2 separate regions of the Homo sapiens genome follow, and region 1 is linked to region 2. The links are contacts of gene promoters, found by promoter capture Hi-C in blood cells and fetal thymus (Javierre and others, 2016). All regions are on one chromosome and are shown on one strand. The core of a region is centred on a gene start or on the middle of the fragment in contact, and the rest is flanking DNA. Distances in the headings are between cores, read along the strand shown. Region 1 overlaps LMNB2 (lamin B2). Region 2 holds the start of ZNF556 (zinc finger protein 556).

Region 1 (4,367 bases), core at 1,457-3,956, 430 kb before region 2:
CAGGGCTGGGGACTGCTGATGGGGAGGGGGTTCTTTTTGGGTGATGGAATGTTCTAGAATTAGAGGTGGTGGTTGCACAACCCTGTGGAGATCCTGCCAATGCTGAACTGTACACTTTAAAAAGGTGGACTTAAAATAGCCAGGTGTGGTGGCGGGCACCTGTGGTCCCAGCTACTCAGGAGGCTGAGACAAGAGAATCGCTTGACCTTGGGAGGTTGCAGTGAGCCAGGATCGCACCATTGCACTCCAACCTGGGTAACAAAGTGAGACTGCGTCTCAAAAAAAAAAAAAGTGACTCTCTCTTATAAAAGCCATTATTGAAGAAAGCGGGCCAGGCGTGGTGGCTCATGCCTGTAATCCCAGCACTTTGGGAGGCTGAGGCAGGCAGATCACGAGGTCAGGAGTTCGAGACCAGCCTAGCCAACATGGTGAAACCCCATCTCTATTAAAAATACAAAAATTAGGCCGGGCACAGTGGCTCAAGCCTGTAATCCCAGCACTTTGGGAGGCTAAGACAGGTGGATCATGAGGTCAGAAGTTCAAGACCAGCCTGACAAACATGGTGAAAACCCCGTCTGTACTAAAAATACAAAAATTAGTCGGGTTGGTGGCACCCGCCTATAATCCCAGCTACTCAGGAGGCTGAGGCAGGAGAATCGCTTGAACCCAGGAGGCGGAGGTTGCAGTGAGCTGAGATCATGCCACCGTACTCCAGCCTGGGTGACAGAGCAAGACTCCGTCTCAAAAGAAAAAAATTAGCTGGGTGTGGTGCTGTGCACCTATAATCCCAGCTACTCGGGAGGCTGGGCCCAGTGTGGGCAACAGAGCAAGACTCCATCTCAAAAACAAAACAAAACAAAACAAAACAAAACAAAAACAGTAGAAACGCTTCTGAAGGAAGCTGGCCACCTTTGCAGTCAGCAAGGCGGGTAGCCCAGGCAAGCAGAGCCCTGCGGGCCGCGCACCCACCTCCACGGCCGCCCTCCCGCCTCCACGGCCGCGCACCCGCCTGCACAGCCGCCCTCCCGCCTTCACGGCTGCGCACCCACCTCCACGGCCGCTCACCCACCTGCACTGCCGCCCTCCCACCCCCACAGCCGCGCACCCACCTCCACGGCCGCCCTCTCGCCTCCACGGCCACCCTCCCGCCACCACGGCCGCGCACCCACCTCCACGGCCGCCCTCCCGCCACCACAGCCGCGCACCCACCTCCACGGCCGCCCTTCCGCCCCCACGGCCGCCCTCTCCAGGACTCCGCACCCTGTGGGCTGCACAGGCCTGCATCATCAAGCTCCCTACCGCAGCTCCCTGTGAGGGCCCCTCCAGGGCCTCTTCCCGGCCCCTGCACCGCCTTCGTGGGTCTTTTCCCAGGTGCCCTGTGGGTTCCACCTGGGGCACGTTCCTGGGCCCCCGCACAGAAGCTCTCGTGAGTCTCTTCACGGGCTGTCTCACAGGTTTCCCCACAGGCCCCTTCACAACTGCCCTGGCGGCCTCCCCTCTGGCTCCTGTGGGGCCCCCCCCACTCCCTGGGCCTGGCCAGAGCGGGGCGCAGCTCCTGAGCGGCCTGGACATCCCTCCACCAGCAGCCAGCAGCTCTCCCTGGGCAGGGAGTGTGGGCCCGGCCGGCCCCGGCATTCCACCCTGCACTGTGACAGCACAATTGGTTCTAAAGGACACAGGCTGACGCCTTTCCTCCCCACTCCCCTCTCCGAGCCCCCGGAGGCAGAGGCCCCAGGTGAGGGGCTGCAGGTCAGGGAAGGAGGCTGGGTGGGGAGAGCGGGCCTCACCCTCGCTTTGGACAAGGAGGCCCTGTGGGAGGCTGGACGGTGGCACCCAGAAGATGCACCTGACGCCTGCCTCATGGTCTAGCAGTTAGGATCCCAGGCGGCCAGGGTTCAGCTCTCAGGGTGGGAACACCAAGCTTTTAGAAAGGCAAGAAATCAAAATAGACCTTCCTTGACACTGAAGAGATATGTTTTGGCTGGGCATGGTGACTCACGCCTGGAATCCCAGCAGTTTGGGAGGCCGAGGCGGATGAAGCACCTGAGGTCAGGAGTTCGAGACCAGCCTGGCCAACGTGGTGAAACCTCGTCTCTACTAAAAATACATAAATTACCTGGGCATGGTGGTGCACGCCTATAATCCAGCTACTCGGGAGGCTGAGGCAGGAGAATTGCTTGAACCTGGGAGGCGGAGGTTGCAGTGAGCCAAGATCGTGCCACCGCACTCCAGCATGGGTGACAGAGTGAAACTCCATCTCAAAAAAAGACGTGCCCACATCCCGATCCCCAGCAGCTGTGAATGGACCTTATTTGGAAATGGGGTCTCTGCAGATGCCATTAGGTCACTCTGGATGATCCAGGCAGGCCCCAAATCCAATGACAAGTGTCCTTGTAGGATACACAGAGTATGGACACAGGGGAGGCAGCCGCGGGAAGACAGAGGCAGACACTGGGGAGACGCAGCCGAAGCCAAGGGCACCCTAAGAGGCAGGAAGGAGCCTCCCTAGAGCCGTGGGAGGGACCCCGGCCACACGGTGCCCTCAGGCTTCCGCCCTCCACAGCCATGAGGGTGGACTTTGCGTTTCCGCTGTGCCAGGCTGGAGGCCAGGCCACTCACTCACCTCCTCGAACACACTCTTCCGGAAGTCCAGCTCCTCCTGCAGGCTCTGGCAGCGGTTCTCCAGGTCCACACGCATCAGCGTCTCCTTCTCCAGCTGCTTTTTGGCCACTGCATGACCGTCCTCGGCCTGGGAGACACAGGACAGCGAGCTGGTGTGACAATCTGTCTGTTGCATATACCCTGCTGGGGCGTCCCGTGGCTCCTGGCACCTACCTTGGCCAGCTGGGCCCGCAGCTCAGCCACGTCACTCTCCAGGCCGCGCTTGTCGCTGAGGGCAGCTGCCAGCTCCACCTCGCTCCGGTGGAACAGGGACTCCAGGTCCTTCACACGGCCCTGGGCCACCGTAAGCTCGCCCTCCCTCTTCTTGGCGCTGAAAGTCAAGAGGGCAAGTGAGTGGGGAGGGGCAAGGTCCATGGGGCCACAGGGAGCACCTCAGGGGGCGTCAGGCAAGCCCAAAGACAAGGTCACCGAGGCCTCCGAGCCCCAGACCTTCCCGTCCTGCAGACGACGCGGCCCCACGCGCCCAGGCAAAGGCACACGTGCCCTCATCATCTGCCCTGCACTGTCAGGAGTCCAGCAAGTGACAGGCACCAGCGCTTGGGACCACCCTGGAGGCATGGGCTTTCCCAGCCTCTCCTGCCTGTTCTGGACCCAGGACGACCATTTGGGGAGAAATTAATGCATCCTCTGTAAATGTTACAAAGACCCTGGCCTTTGAAGGGTCAGCCTTGTTTGTAAACTTAAGCTGTCTGAAGCAGGCTCACCTGGTTTTCCACTAAACCAAATTAGCTCCAACATTAGATATTTAAGATAGCAAATACTCAGGCTTTTTAAACACACAAATACTACCAGTGTGGATTGTAGGCACTTAAGCTTTTTTTTTTTTTTTTTTTTTTTTTTTTTTAAGAGACAGGGGTTCACTTGTTTGCACAGGCTGGTCTCGAACTCCTGGGCTCAAGGAATCCTCCTGTCTCAGCCTCCCAAAGTGCTGGGATTACAGGTGCGAGCCACCGCGTACGGCTGACTCTTAAATGTTTTTAAGCATAATTATAAGTCTTGGAGCTGAATTTTACCCCCTCCCGACAGGGAACTAACTATATCCTCCCAAGAAACAGTGAGGACACCCAGGGTTCCGCAGCGTCACAACTGCTGACATCTGGGGTGGTCTTGAGTGAGGGCACCCAGGGTTCTGCAGCGTCACAACTGCTGACATTTGGGGTGGTCGAGTGAGGACATCCAGGGTTCCGCAGCGTCACAACTGCTGACATTTGGGGTGGTCCTAGGCACTGCAGGGTGCTGAGCACTGTCCCTGGCCTCCACCCACTTCAGACCAGGAGCTTCTTGCTGCCCAGTTTTGACAACCACAAGTGTCCCCAGGAATCACCCAGTGTCCCCTGGGGACAGAATCACCCCAGGATGGGGACAACTGGGTGTATCTGGAATAACACAGCCAAGGCTGCTGGCTGGACATTCAAAGAACATCCACATCCAGGCGGCTCGAGCCCGTGGCCAGAGGTCAGAAGTGACAGGGACCTCTCCTGCCCAGCAGAATGCACTCCCGACTCTCCCTAGAGCCTTTTTTTTTTTTTGAGTTGGAGTTTCGCTCTTGTTGCCCAGGCTGGATTGCAATGGCGTGATCTCGGCTCACTGCAACCTCCGCCTCCCGGGTTCAAACAATTCTCCTGCCTCAGCCTCCTGTGTAGCTGGGATTACAGGCATGCGCCACCAGCGTCCGCTAATTTTTT
Region 2 (4,129 bases), core at 861-3,360:
GTGAGCTGAGATTGCACCACTACACTCCAGCCTGGTGACTAAGCGAGACTCCATCTCAAAAAATTAAAATAAAATAAATAAATAAATAAATAAATAAAAGAGCCCAGTGTTGTGTTGGAACAGGAATTAAAACAGATTAAAGAATGTGTAAGCAGAAACTCAGTTGTATGTAAGAAAACCCAATTCCCCCTGAGAACAAGAAAGAGCTGGAGTCTTTTAAAAATTAACTGCCTGTTTTTCTGTGGCTAGTGAGCCTTATCTCTCCTCCCTTCCCAGGCATTGTGAAGGCCCTGTTTCCCTAGTTGTGCAGCTGCAAGTTCACTAGACAGATAAACTCAAGTTGCAAAACATGTTTTGCCTTGAAAAGTAAGAAATGATGTAATGCACGTCTCAATTAATTGAATAACTCTCTTTGTCTCTCGCTTCTGTAATATGCTTCCCCCTGCACAGATCTCCCCCGGCCCCACAAAATGCTTCAAAGGTAACTTAACTCTTTGTTCAGGGCTCAGTCCTTTGGGTGTTAATCGGACTGGGCTGGTGCAGCTAAATAATAAATATCCTCCTGAACCCCATCGGTCTCTCTGATTCCTTATCAATCTCGCTACAGTGTCGTTTGAGAAAAGAACTGAGCACCTTGATCACTGTCAGTAGCATCTGTAACCCCAAGGGAAGGGCGGGTCTTGGTGAAACCCTGTATTGTGGCTCAGCAGGAGAACGTCTGGTGGGATTGGTAAGGAATATTTGCATTTAAGTGGCTTCCGTGATCACAGTATACGGAATAGCCTCTGCAAAGGTGGGCGGGGACCCTATAAAATCTATTTGCTCTCAGCCCTACCAACAGGCTTCCAGGGATTATGCCTCCTTGATTATATGTCATTTGCCTGTAGACTATTCATCTGCCTGCACATTGAGCGCTCAGCTGTGGTGTTTGAGTTTTCATAGGTACACAGATATTCGTGACCTTGATTTTTACTTGAGAAACTGTGAGGCAAAATATCCCCAGAGTGCTTTAACCTCAAAATATTGACCTAGGATACAGTTGTTGCCACAGTTTTTTTTAAGTGTGTTTTCGGTTTTTTTGTTTTGTTTTGTTTTCTATGTTTTTGTTGTTGTTGTTGTTTTTGAGACGGAGTTTCCCTCTTGTTGCCTAGGCTGAGTGCAGTGGGGCAATCTCAGCTCACTGCAACCTCCGCCTTCCAGGTTCAAGCGATTCTTCCCCCTTAGCCTCCGAGTAGCTGGGATTACAGGCACCCACCACCACACCCGGCTAATTTTTTGTATTTTTAGTAAAGACAGGGTTTCATCATGTTGGCCACACTGGTCTCAAACTCCTGACCTCAGGTGATCCACCCACCTTGGCCTCCCAAAGTGCTGTGATTACAGGCATGAGCCACCGCGCCCGGCTGGCTAGACCATTGCTAATGGCTCAAGAGTTCAGTTCTAGCAATTGTGCTGACCCTAGTTAGGGAATGGTAAAGCTTTCGTTGGTCACTCACTTGACCCCATGGGCCTCCCCAGGTGTCTACTGGTCAGGAGAGAGAGGGGACCTCCTCCAGTGTCATGGAATCTGACAACAGACTGAGGACAGAAGAAGCTGCTTTTTTCTACGGTGGATACCCCAAGGGCCCAGGTTTCCCTCTAAGTCAGTACCACTTTCATTTCAGGAAGGAGACCACCGTGGATGGGGGCTGCTGCCTGCAGGACCCGAGACCTGAAAACTGACCAATCAGGCAGCTGGGGTGGGGCCTAGAGAACTGACCAATCAGGGGAGTTGAGGTGGAGCATCCGGATGAGAACTGTCAATCAGGGGGGTTGGGGCAGAGCCTGGAGACCTGTCAAATCAAAGGAGCTGAGGCAGGGCGTGGAAACATGACCAATTAGGAAAGCTGGGGTGGGGCCTGAAGAACTGCCCAATCAGGGGAGCTCAGGGGATAGCAAGCTGACCAACCAGAAGAGGAGGGGCAGAGTCTAAAGAACTGTCCAATCAGGGGAGTTGGGATGTGACTGGTGAACTCTCCAATCAGAGATGAGCAGAGAAGAGAACCATCCAATCACAGCCCCAGGGGCGGGGCGTTGCTGTCCTCCCTGCAGAGCACACCCGGCCTGCCCTGAGTGACCACAGGTGTCCCCGTCGTGCTCACCTGCACCGGCTGCGAGGAGCAGGGAGCTCCTCAAAGAGCTCAGGAACGGACAGGACATGGTGAGTGCAGGGCAGGAGCCGAGCCGGAGCCGGAGCCCTGGGAGGGGAGGGTTGGAAGCGGCCAGAACACGCTGAAACTCCCGGGGGAGCCGCCCGGAACCCCCATGCAGCCTCTGTCCCTGTGTCACCCCCGGGTCCTGCGGGGAGTTTCCTCCCCTGCCCCAGTCTTCATTCCCTGGAAAGTCGTAGTTGTCAGGACGCTGGGATGGAGGGGAAAAAAAGGCAGAAATGACTCCTGCCCTGTGGGGTCTCGCGAAGTTAATTGGAAGAAAAACTAACCCAAAGTACAAAAAACAAAACAAAAAAAAAAAAAACCTCACCCCAGCGAGGCGGTGCAACAGCCCCAAAGCAGAATGCGCTTTGGATGCAGACTTTGGGCCCAGGCCCACGTCCCTGGGAGGGGCGAGGGGTGGACAGGTGGTGCGGGCGCTCCACGTGGCGGCACGGGCTGGCCTGACCCCAAAGGCCCGCAGGCCGGACTCCAGCCCAGCCGCCCCTGCCTGGGCCTCTCTCCTTCTAAAGATTGATTTGGTTACTTGAGCCTCAGATTTTTTCAGTCAATGGAACATACAGTAAATAATAGAGTTTGAAAGATAAAATATTTCCAAGGAGGTGAATTTCAGAAAAAAATAAAGTTCTCGTCTTACATTCCATTTGTTAAAAATTCTAGCGTGCCTTTTTTTTTTCTTTTTATTTTCTGTTCCTTTTTTGCCCGTGTGGTTAAGTTTCTCACATCTGTTGTTTTATTTTCGGTGATGACAAATGGGATTCCAGGGCTTAGCCCTTGACGGGGCTCCCGGGAAAAAGAATCGCAGAGAAAGAGAGAAAATCTCTCTTTTATTATGACACGCCCCGAAATGAATACATTCCTACAAGAAAAAAATGTTTGGTATATAATTTGGTGAATTACAAAAACTCGCTAAAATATCAGTTATTCTCCTTTTCCAGGATGGAGAATTTGTGATAGATGATAATTCTGTTCTTTTATTTTTTGTTTTTATTTTTTGAAACGGAGTCTTGCTCTGTCACCCAGGCTGGAGTGCAGTGGCGCGATCTCGGCTCACTGCAACCTCCGCCTCCTGAGTTCAAGCGATTGATTCTCCTGCCTCAGCCTCCCCAGCAGCTGGGACTACAGGTGTGTGCCACCACGTCCAGCTAATTTTTGTATTTTTAGTGGAGACAGGGTTTTACCATGTTGGCCAAGCTGGTCTCCAACTCCTGACCTCAGGTGATCCACCCGCCTTGGCCTCCCAGAATGCTTGGATTACAGGCAGCATGTGCCACCATGACTAGCTAATTTTTTTTTTTTTTTCAGATGGAGCCTCGCTCTGTCACCCAGGCTGGAGTGCAATGGCGCGATCTCTGCTTACTGCAACCTCCGCCTCCTGGGTTCAAGCGATTCTCCTACCTCAGCCTCCCGAATAGCTGGGATTACAGGCACGTGTGGCCACACCCAGCTAATTTTTGTATTTTTAGTAGAGACGGGGTTCCACCATGTTGGCCAGGCTGGTCTCGAACTCCTGACCTCAGCTGATCCACCCACCTCAGCCTCCCAAAGTGCTGGGATTACAGGCGTGAGCCACCACACCTGGCCCCTTTATCACTCTTTTATATTCACTCATAGGGATATATTGTTAGTGTTCATTAATTCCACTGCTTGCTAGTGACTATTCGGGTATTTTCAAATTTTTTCCATTGTGACCAGTGCCCCTAAAGACATTATTACATGTGTGTCCACTTGAATGCCTTATTCTCAGCTGCACTGCAGTATATCCTCATCCTCTCCCCAAGAGCCTGGTCCACATATTACCGCCTACATCTCAGTTGCTGGTAACTCCATTATTCCAGCTTTCCTGTGTGAAATAATTAGTCTTCCTTGATTCTTCCTGCTCTGTCTTGCCCCACCTTGAGCCCATGAGGAAATTTTAT

What was found. Contacts are between HindIII fragments. The CHiCAGO score rates a contact against its expected background, and 5 or more counts as called.
Region 1: a contact is called between a fragment that was not itself captured here and the fragment with the promoter of ZNF556 in region 2, in 1 of 17 cell types (M2 macrophages). The highest score is 5.5, in M2 macrophages.

Annotation. Positions count from the first base shown.
Region 1 is chr19:2,435,540-2,439,906 of GRCh38, forward strand. LMNB2 (lamin B2) reads right to left here. Exons shown (of 12, transcript NM_032737.4): 3 at 2,836-2,992; 4 at 2,624-2,749. Among named protein-coding and RNA genes, the nearest start is that of MIR7108, 2.7 kb to the left of the region's middle. The HindIII fragment of the contact is 1,574 bases long and covers 1,920-3,493 here.
Region 2 is chr19:2,865,225-2,869,353 of GRCh38, forward strand. It overlaps ZNF556 (zinc finger protein 556), which reads left to right and starts at 2,111. Exons shown (of 4, transcript NM_024967.3): 1 at 2,111-2,200. The coding sequence starts at 2,198. The HindIII fragment of the contact is 3,420 bases long and covers 1,477-4,129 here.